Regions from separate parts of the Homo sapiens genome. Here region 1 is linked to region 2. Evidence: promoter capture Hi-C in human tissues and cell types (Jung and others, 2019). All regions are on one chromosome and are shown on one strand. Each heading gives the region's core, a stretch centred on a gene start or on the middle of the fragment in contact. The rest is flanking DNA. Distances are from core to core; before and after follow the strand shown.

Region 1 (5,373 bases), core at 2,364-4,863, 50 kb after region 2:
TTTCCATATACAGCAGGAATTTTGTTTGTTACTATGTCTTTAACACTCAGTGTGATGTCTATGTGATCAATAAATTAATAACATCCAATATAGCAATTTATTGTAGATATTTCTTTATATATTTGTTTTATCTTAATTATACAAGAATTCTTAATTATTTTTATCTTCAATATCTGGTACATAGTAGGTACTCAATAAATGTTTTGATTCATGCATGACTACATAGCGCTTTTTATGAAGCACCACGCAATGCTGAAATACTTAATTGCTAATTTTACTAGCAGAATATATAACTTTATTCATACAGTATAAAATCACAAAAGCAAACATACATCACTAAAAAATGAGCTGTTGTAACTAACAACCAGCTGTTTCTAAGTGTTATGCTAAAGCGTATTTATTTCTTCATTTGTTTGGATCTGTGCACTCTAACCTATAGAAAAGCCATCATATATACCAAAAGCTTAAGCAAATGTATGGAAAATTTGGGGAAATTTTGTAACATTTTCTCGTCACAATTACTTATCTTCTTAGTGGTCAAAAACTCAAAATCTCACTCTATTGAAACACTCTAAGACATGAGAGTATATAATTAAACTTCACTGTTTTAGACCAATAAACCCAGTCTGTTTAAATTGCCAATTGGTTCATTTAAGGCAGCATAGTACAGTGGTTTAAGAGTCCAAACTCTGCATTCAGACTGTATATTTTTAAATTCTAGCTTGAAAAATTACTAGTTATGCAAACTCAGGCAAGTTCTCAACCTTTCTTTTCTTGTATGTAAATAGGGGTAATAATATCCCTAGCTCATGGTGTTAATGAAAGTATTTATGATGTAACCATAAAACCCATAGAATAGTGCCTTATAAATAGTAGGAGCTCAATCTTAGCTATTGTTACTGTTATTATAAAATATAGTTTTTATTACATTTAATTGTATATAATAACTCTTAACAAGGTTATTTCCTAATACGCTCTGCCAATCTTGACTCAAAGAATAAATAAGAATTATTTATGATTAAATCCATCTCTATAAAAATAATTCATGTGTTGAGGTTCATACCTTCTCTTAAGTTTAAAATGCTTTGCCTGTCGCATCCTCAGCTCAGCTCAAGATGAGTTATTGTACATGATTCATGAGAAAACTCCAAATTAAGTTTTATTTTGTACTCCCTGCTGAAGACTGAAGAGTGATTACCTTCGTAATACATGGCATCAAATGTGAGTTAGGTCTTGATTTATTTAACAATTCACCACTAAAAAAGAAGACTGGATACTTTCACCAAATTTTACTTCAACAAATGAAGACAAAGGACACTAATTAGGATTTGCTTCACAAATTGTTACTGTTTATTTTCTTTTAAGAAGCTAAGGTGGTACTTTGGCATCAGGAAAATTATACAAAAAGAAAAGGAGAGGCATTGAACTATATCTCTGAGACAAAGATGATGGATTCTAAGTATCTTACCTCACAAAAAGAAGGGACTGCCTAGTTAGTGGTGATAACAGGATCAGTCAGAATCCATGTCTTCCACAGTCTACTCAATGCACTTTCCATTCTGCCATGCTTTTAGAGCTGGGAAAGAGGTTGGTTGTGGGTTATCTGGAAATTTGGGAAAAGGTCATCTTGATTTTAAAAGGGCTCATAAATTCTGAATGAGACTAAGTGGACTAGAATAGTAATGGGATAGATAATGTAAAACATTATTTGTATAACATTGCCTCTGAAAATGAAAACCTTTGCTCAGAAGTATTTGTTCTCAGAGGAAGTGGCCAGATGAACTGGTGAATGAAGGTAGAAGAACCTTACTGTCAGCATCCCTACCAGGGATACTTTGTATGAAAACAGGTCAGGTCTTAGCACCACAAATATGAATGGAGAGTCATTGCTCTCTGGATGATCTGAGGAAAGCCATTTTGATTAAGTTTTTGATTAAGTGAGAGGAAAATACACTTCAGTGGCTGAAGATGATTTTTTTTTTTTGTAAAGGGCTTTGCCAATTTATGTCAGTGGAAAAGGAGTTAACAGTTTCCAGTCAAAGATGTAGGAAGTAATTAGAGTCATCAGTGCATGAAATAAACATCATAATTATATTAGAAATAATTGATAATTGATTCATAAATATCTGAATTACACATGGCTTTTTTTAGATGCTGCCTAAAAACTATTTATCAATGAGAATGTGAGACAAATATGCCTATAAGTATATCAAAGTATATGGTTCTTCAGAAAGATGATCCACCTTGAACAATTTAGGATTTTGTTAAGATAAATTAGCCCCAGATTCTCATTCTTAAATCCTTAGATCTTTGTTTAACAGAGGGGCAACAAGATGCTGTATGCTAGGAAAAAAAAAAAGAAGCAACATAATCTACAGGCATATGTTGCTTTTAAAGCAAACTCAACTTAAATTTGGATTTGTACAAAAATTAGATGATTTTATTTCACACATATTTATAACATTTTTATATATATCAAATCTCTGATGTGTTTGACATCAATTGATTGATAAATATCTGAATTACACATGGCTTTTTAGATACCACCTACAAAGTATTTCTCAAGGAGAAAGTGAGATATGTCTATGCTATATAAATAAAAAATTCAGCTGTAATAGTAAGTCAGAAAAGTTTACGTGGTTTTGATGAGACTGAAAGATGGAATTGTGCAAGAGATGAGCCATTAGCGCTTTTCCTAGTAGTAGGAAAGTTGGGATACATCTAAAATATTCTCAAAGTGTAGTCTATGTAATGTTTGCACTGGAAAATTTTAAAGTGCTTATTATAAATTCAGATTCACCCCATCCTACTGAGTCTTGGGGAGTAGGCCCCAATAACTGCATTGCACTTACTTCCTTAGTTTGCTCTTACGCACTTTCGTTCTTGTCAACTACTGGGATTAACTATTTGCTCAAAGGCTGGTTTCACCTTTGCAGAAATTCATGATCCTCATTTTTATTTTCATAAAAAAATACAAGTTCCTTAGTTCATAAACATTCAAGCACAATCCTTTAAGCCCAAATACCCTTTCATTAGGTAAACTTAAGAGGAAACTCTTTTGCAGCCTCAGCTGTGCTTCATTTTACATCCTTGGATAAGCCTTCCTATTCCCCATTTATTTCCCTCCTACATCCGAATTAGTAGTGTCCTTCTTCTGCATACTCCTTAGTCACTTCGTATTGCATTTGTTCACATAGCTTGCTCCTGTCTGCATCACTGATTATCAGCCCCATGAAGGGAGGAATGTTATTCATCTTTGATGCCGTCTCTCCTAGTACAGTAGTCAACACATAATACCTGCTCAATAAATTTTTGTTGCATGGCTTTAGCTTTGGTTCATAAAGGTTAATGTTTCATCTCTATGGTGAACTAAAAGTTGTACTTGGCTAAACTTGGGACATTTTTGCTGAAGAGTCTAGTTCCAACAGGAAGCCAGTGATTCCCAAGAAATGCATTTGAGGTAAATTAGTAAGTAGAATCCTTAGAGGCCTGTTTTGTTGGTGTTGTTGCTTTTATTTATCTTTGAAATGGTACCAGAGGCTTGTCTGATTAAAGTGAAATTGTTGGTTTGGTGTCTACTTCCAATTAGACTATAAGCTTCTTGAATTTATGAATTGTATCTCAATAATCTCCATATTTTCAATACCTATATCTAGTATAGGTGCTAAAAAGAAATAAAGTTTAAATTAAGCTGAATGTTAGTAAGCATCAGCCATAGCCCTTGAAGATAATAAATGCTTATCAGATGCTGTTTGGATTCTCCAATACCTAGATAAATAAATTTATGTTCCTCAAAGAGAAGCAAATCTCTGAATCTTTAAGTTGGAAAGGACTTCACAGGTTATCCATTCCATTGCCTAACAGTGCAAATATCTCTTCTGTAGCCCCTGTTAAAAATCCTCTAACCCATGTTAAAATTTCTCTAGCTCCAGGAAGCTCAGTAACACCAAATGCAAACAAGGACATTTAAACTGATCTAAATGTTCACAAGTTGGGTTTTTTCTTCTTTTTTCATGAACTAGAATCACTCAGGTCAATACTGTACTATGTTAGCTTCCTTAGCAGGTTGTAATTTTCAAGGATTCCCATATTGGTATACATCTAGGGATATCTGAAACTTGACAGTAATTTTAACAGGTTAATGCACTATGTTTAATTAACAGAGAACAGCTTTAAGATAGTGGTAGGTATATGAAGCAAGCAAAACCTTCTTCCCTGTAGCCAAATTTCTGTGCTCCTGGGTATTATTCAGCAAATATGATAGATGAACATGTGGGGATTTCTTTCCTGGTGCTTAGTGTTTTCCTGACACCAGTGCTGTGTTGACCTTTCTTCATGCCCTTCTCAAATGTTTCACACAACTATAGACTGGCAGCTAAGTATACCACCCTTCTCCCTCAAAACAAAAAGAAAGAACAAGCATTGTAAATTCTTACTCTTTCCCTTGAACTGAATTCAGGCAACATTTCTACCTGGAAGTCTTCCTTGAACTATGTTCCAGTCACATGTGTGTTTTCTTCCATTATCATAATTATTTCTTCCCTCTGGGTCTATCTCCTGCTCTGTGCCTTTACCTCTGGTCACAGGATGATTTTCTATCTTGGCTGGAGGCCTTTCCTTATTAATCATTTCACATGTGCCCTTCTCTATGGTGCTTCTTGCATTCTTAGCCATGTTCTAGTTTGTTTTGTTCTGTTTTATTGTTTTTGACAGTCCTCTATAATCTTACATTTGTTTTGTGCTGAACTCTACATTCCTGAGACTTTGATCCACTGTTTTTGTATCTGCCTTAAGTTTAATGTCTATTAGGCCTTCCCTCATGGAGTCTGAGACTTTACTTTTGTGCTGTGACATGTCAGAACGTTTCCTTCTGCATGGAATAGGTCTAGGATATCAAGTTATGCTAACTTTGGATCTGCAGATTTTAAAGTCCGTGAGAAAGCAGGGTGACTCTTTAAGCCCTCCCACTATGGGCAGTGCTATTTTGAGAAAAATTAAAAAGAGCTTTGGAGTTTGTGTGTGTGTGTGTGTGTGTGTTTTGTTTTGTTTTTGTTTTTTGTTATTTTACACCCAGCTAATTTTTGTGGTTTTTTGTTTTGTTTTGTTTTGTTTCAGTAGAAACAGGGTTTCGTCGTGTTGGCGAGGCTGGTCTTGAGCTCCTGACCTCAGGTGATCCACCCACCTTGGCCTCCCAAAGTGCTGAGATTACAAGCATGAGACACTGTGCCAGGCCAAGAGCTTTGGAGTTTTCTAAGGAATCCAGTGAATACCAAGTTCCATGCTTATGAAAGAGTATGTGTTAGAGAAATTCCAAGTTTAATACTGTCTCCAAGTGCTCTGCGAAAATAATTTAGTGATTTTCTGTCTAATTGA
Region 2 (5,660 bases), core at 1,530-4,029:
GGAGGAAGAAGGCAGGCAGCCTGGGTTTCTCCACCTTTCCCTTACATCCTAACAATGGCCCCCACTCCTGCACCTCAGTGCTTGCACTCACCTCCAGATTTTACATGATACTTTTTTCTTACTTACAACTCCCTATATTCTTTAGAACTACCACTTCAAGCCCATTCCAATTAAGTTCTGAACTCTGAAATTTCACCTCTGTAAAAAAAAAAAAAAAGTCTTTCCTAATTAACCTCATTAGATTTTGATTTCCTACTTAGCAGCCTTTCAGAAATCTCCAACATGTTACATCTTTGGATGCATCACCTGGTCTTTCACTAACTTGTTCTCTGTGCATTTGGTACAACTCCCAGTTGGCTGCAAACTTCTTTGATGCATCTGCCAGCCCTTTGGTAGTAATAATACTAATACTAAAAAGCTAACATGCAGGTCTTATTATGCTCCAGACAAAATGCTAAGTAATTTACTAGCAGAGTATTTGAATACTGTCTGGCACATAGTAAGCCATTAATACAGGTTTGTTATTATTACCATTTATAGCTCAATTAACTTGGCATTATTATTCTCTCCATTTCAGGATAAGAAAACTGTGAGGCACAGAGAATTACATAAATTGCTCAGAGTCACAGAGCTCATTATGTGGCACAAACAAAACTTGGTGCCCATCTATTTGACACGAATACCCATCAATGTTCTTAATCATTACAAAACATTTGCTAAACACACACACACATGCACACACACACACACAAATCAATCCTTTTTGCAATAATACCCCTCCAGTTTTCAGAGCAGTGTAAGTTGTACTCAAGGCAGGTTTTACTTAGGAATTCATTCCCCTTTTAAAATTTAACTGTCTTAGAGACATAAGAAAAAAGTCACAAGTATTTGTATCTCCCTGAAGAATTTCATTTTAAAATTTAGAGGCCACTGAAGTATGTGTCCTTAGGGAGAACAATGGGTTTTTCAAAACTTCTAAATTGCTAAGGAGCTGTGTTTTGCTTTTCAACTATTAATATGCTACTTCAGTCAGTCACCAGTACGTCATATTTGCTTTGGTAGAAAGAGCTAGGCCATGTCCAGGGCTGAGCAATAGAAAAAGTTCATGAGTATATTGCTAATAGAAATGATTAATAATACATTACAGGCTCAACCCTGATCATACCATGCATCTTCTTCCAGTTATTTTGAGTACATTTTCATTGGATGCTCACAATTGCTCTCTATTGTAACAGCTTTTCTCCTGGTCATACTGTGAGATTATACAGGGAGAAATGCCCACTTCTGATGTTGTTTTTCCTGAGTTCTAAAGAAGGCGTTCCCTTTCCTCCCATCTCCTTTCCTTTTTCTCTGCCTTCTCTCTCTCATAGGCTGCCCTGCCCTTTTCTTCCTTCGCTGTCTGAGCTTTCTTGAAGGGAACCAAGGGTCGTAGATCCCCCAGGGCTGGGCCCTTCTGAAAGGCTCCATGGTCTCTGGAGAGCAGTCAGGTGACAGACTGAACCCAACCGGGCCCAGTGACACAACTTCCCACTTAGGCAACTACACAGCCCCCAGATCCCATTCCTGGCAGCTTCAAAACCCTGGGCTCCGCCACAACCAGGCACAACTGCCTCCCTCCAGGTTTCCACTTGGGTGAATGAATAGGCTTGAAGGCGACTCCAGATGCAGGAGGCGCGTCGCGGAGAAACGTGTCATTTAGGAGAAAGTTTGTTTCCTACAGAGACTGCAGTTGGCAGCTGCAGCCCCAGTCGGTTGCGAGAAAAGCTCCCCACCTGGGGAAGCGAGGCCGCTCCCGTGTGCGCTCGGCGGGGAGGACGCGGTGGCGGCGGGACTCGAACTCGGTCGTCGAAGGGCGCCCCGCAGGGTCCCGTCTGTAGCCCGGACGGCGAGCCCAGGTTGGAGTGGGAGGGAGCCGGCGTGCACAGCTGTCTTTGGTCGGGCTCAGGCTTCCGCTCCCTGCCTGCTCCCCTTTCCAGCCTCCCGCCCCAGAAACGATCTCGAGCGTTGCCAGTTTGATTCCAGAGCCCCACTCGGGTGGGTTCTTTTGTTTCTTTGTTTTAATGACAGTTCCCAGCCCTTCAGCATGTCATGCGCAATTAATTCCCTGGCTCTCACGAAGGCAGCTGGGGTGAAATTTCTTCTGCATCATCCTTTTGGGGATGTTTATGATGTGACGTCAGTCGGATTGATTTTTCTCTCTTGAATGAAGGATGGGAGGGGAGAAAGAGAGACGGAGAGAGAGAGAGACGCACAGATGTGCACGGAGGCCACAGACACTGACATTTGGAATTCCTTCAGGGTAAAAGGACACCGGAATGGGAGCTTAGAAGTGTGTTGCTAAGATTTCCGGCTGCACGGAATTATTAAGTTTTTCTTAAAAAAACAAAAAAAGAAAGAAAGAAAGAAAAAGAAAAGAACCCCCTCCGCAGCGAGCCACTTAGGTGCTGCTTTCACGCCAGAGTCCCCTGTTAAGGTGGCAGCCCTTGATAACTAATCTCGGGCACCCAGCCGCTTCTGTAAGCTTAAGGAGACGACGAGGAGGGGCGGGGGAAGTGCGTCACCAGGTGGGGAAGGGGCTGTGTATTTGGTGACAAGCGGGAGGCGATGGGGGTGGAGGGGAATGGGGACGGGAAATAGGTTCTGTGTGCTCTCCGGGGGTATTGTGTCAGGAGATGCAGGCTGGCTACCATGTGACGCGGTCCAAAGCTGAAGGGATTGGCCGAGGCAGCGCAGGCGGTGCAGCTCGGCCAGCTTGCCGTTCCTCTCCCTTTCTCTCAGCATCTTCTTGGTAGCCTGCCTGTAGGTGAAGAAGCACCAGCAGCATCCATGGCCTGTCTTTTGGCTTAACACTTATCTCCTTTGGCTTTGACAGCGGACGGAATAGACCTCAGCAGCGGCGTGGTGAGGACTTAGCTGGGACCTGGAATCGTATCCTCCTGTGTTTTTTCAGACTCCTTGGAAATTAAGGAATGCAATTCTGCCACCATGATGGAAGGTAGGATGCTTTCTGCTATGGTTGACTGGCTTCAGGCAAGGTTTGGGCAGAACAGCATTAAAGAATATGTGCAGCCAGTGTATGTGGCGGTTCTAGAACCTGGTTGCCAATGTTTTGCAAGCAGAAATGCTGCAGTTTGCTTGCAGTGGATCTGGGCTCAGACTAATGGAATCAAACCACAGGGCTGCTGCCTAGCTCAGAACCTACAGAGCTCCCAGCTCCTTTGAGAGAGAAAAGCCTAAAGTGTTTGCAGGGAGCTGAGATGGAGCTAGGAAAGAGCTTGCAGAGCAAATAAGTTGGGCGAGAAGATAAGGTTTTCTGTTCTGGGTTCCTGGGACTACACTGATTAAACATTTACAATGGAAACTTGTTTTCTGAAATTGACATTAGACAGGAGAGGTCATTAACAGAGTTATCCATACAGACATTTTCAGTGAACTGTTTAAAATTGTAAAAATTCTCATAAGGTATTTTTATCTCTGCAGTTTACATCATATTATTGGGATGGGGAGGGCAGCAAATTTGGTCCATAAACTGTAGTTGTATGAGAATGTCATTGCAACAGAATGAAAAATATAAGGAAAATATCCGGGCCTCTTGCCTCCTGATTCGGGGTCTTATCAGGTTAAAAAAGAATTTTGTGCTCCCTAAATGCTTTCCCTGTCCAATGGATTTTAGCCAAGTATCAAATGATTATTTGCTGATGATCTTTTCGCATATTCAATATTGAGTGTAAGGAGGAACTTTCCCTGGAGAGATGCTATTTAAACTATATTTTATTCTGCTAAATTACCCTTCCCAGTCTGACACTGTGACAGCCAAGATTGTCTCCAAAAAGCAGCAAGCTGATCAGGAAAGAAGCAAGCAGCTCTATGCAGGCTTTGATTTTCTGTTTTCACACTATAGGATGGTGCAAAACTCCTGGCCTTTCCTAAGATGACAGGCAGAAATTTGTCCCCAGCCTGGATTTCACAATGCAGAATTGAGTGCATAATGGGTCTCAAATCAGCCATGAAAATGGCAGAGAGGCCACCTCTTAAGCCAAGGTTTGTCCTACGGATTTTAACTATTCCTTAGAAATTTACCAAAATGGAATAAGAGGAGGAAGGTTTCATAAAAACAGCAGTGTAGCCTGTACTTATTTGGCAGAAATGAATTCTTTTTGCTCTCCCTGTCATCATGTCAAACATTGTTAATGTGATTTGGGGGAGTGAAGAATTCTAGAGTCAAAACCCACAGATTTTAGAAGATAGCCTTAAAAGAGAGGTTGGGTATGATTTTGTTATGGAGCTGAGTCTTGTTTGCAAAAGGCTCTCAAGCTAGCCCTTTAAATCCAGGCCTAAATAAATTGAGATTGCTAACACTCTCAGATTAAATCATTTTCATTAATTCAAAATTGATTTAATCTTTGAATAACAAGGCAAGACAGAGTGTTATTTATGCACTTTTCAATTAAAAGCTCATGTGGATTATCTTCTTCAGAAAAAATATCTTGCCTGTAGAGGTACTGTATTTCTCCAGCTCAACTTCATATAGCTTTCTTAAAAATGCATCTGCACACATTCTGATTAGATTTCAGTGTTGCATAGAGAATTGGATGCTCTTTCTTTTCACTTCTTGCCTTGCAAACCATGGCACTAAAGTATCTTCTTTGAAGGTTGTAACGTTTTTTGATGCTCATGAATGATTCTCCTGGTAATATGGTCTATTGTGCCATCCAAGAATGTCAGTTCAAAGCTCTGTGATAAGCTTATCCAGGCTGCCTAAACCAAAATGAGAACTGCAACAAAGACTTGTGCTGGAGCTGAATTAGCACTATTGCTCTGGGTTTGCCAAATTTATCTAATGAACAATGTTATCTTAGCACTGGTATGAATTAGTATGAATTATACTATGGATACAGTTGTCTTTCACCAGATCTTTTGCAAGAGAAATTGGACAGGTGTTCCCACTGGCTTAAATAGCTAAATGAAATTAACATTTATTTCTACCCATAGCTCCTACTTAAATGTTTTTAAGCCTTATTATCTTAATAGTTCGGTGACCTTAGAAAGGCAAATAGGAGTTTAACCAAAAATCAATTTGCTATCAGTTGCCTTCCAACTTAGTTGACAGTCTTTTTGGCAATATACATTCATGTTTCTGGTATTGCATGGCAGAATTTCACCTCTGAATTGCTCTTATTCTGAAGGTGTGGTATATAATTATTATTTCAACTTAACTCATCTCTAGAGATTGCCAGCCTCTGTACATCTACCACAATAACCTTGGAAAGATAAGGAACCTCATAAAAGGCACCCCAAATTTGTCATGGCAGCTCTTCGTTGAAACATTAGTGGACTCTGAGAATGTGCTACCAAACATCTAGTTAAAATCATATTTCTTCTGAACTAGTGTGTCTCACACACACACAGAGTCATCCACCCAAACACATTTCTGGAAAGGAAGAAAACATATATTTGCACTCGTGTGGCTGTACATTTCTATATTGCTAAAGTGTTTTAGTCTGCTGCTCAGAAAAAGCATGGCCATGGCAACTTTTCAAAGGCACTTCTCTACTTTGTGTAAAGCAAGAGTAAACAAATATTCAGCAGAATGGGTCATAGTAAACTACGTTTTGTTTGTGTGGAACAGGATATAGGCTCCATTCATTCAATGCCTATTG

What was found. The method cuts DNA at HindIII sites, captures the fragments that hold promoters and counts their contacts. A contact is called where the count stands out against the background at its distance.
Region 1: a contact is called between a fragment that was not itself captured here and the fragment with the promoter of SGIP1 in region 2, in 1 of the 25 tissues and cell types used here (hippocampus).

What each region holds. Positions count from the first base shown.
Region 1 is chr1:66,580,557-66,585,929 of GRCh38, forward strand. The region is part of intron 1 of SGIP1 (SH3GL interacting endocytic adaptor 1); the gene reads left to right. Among named protein-coding and RNA genes, the nearest start is that of MIR3117, 45 kb to the right of the region's middle. The HindIII fragment of the contact is 8,908 bases long and covers 1-5,373 here.
Region 2 is chr1:66,531,374-66,537,033 of GRCh38, forward strand. SGIP1 (SH3GL interacting endocytic adaptor 1) reads left to right here and starts at 2,780. Exons shown (of 25, transcript NM_032291.4): 1 at 2,780-2,995. The coding sequence starts at 2,986. The HindIII fragment of the contact is 7,701 bases long and covers 1-3,632 here.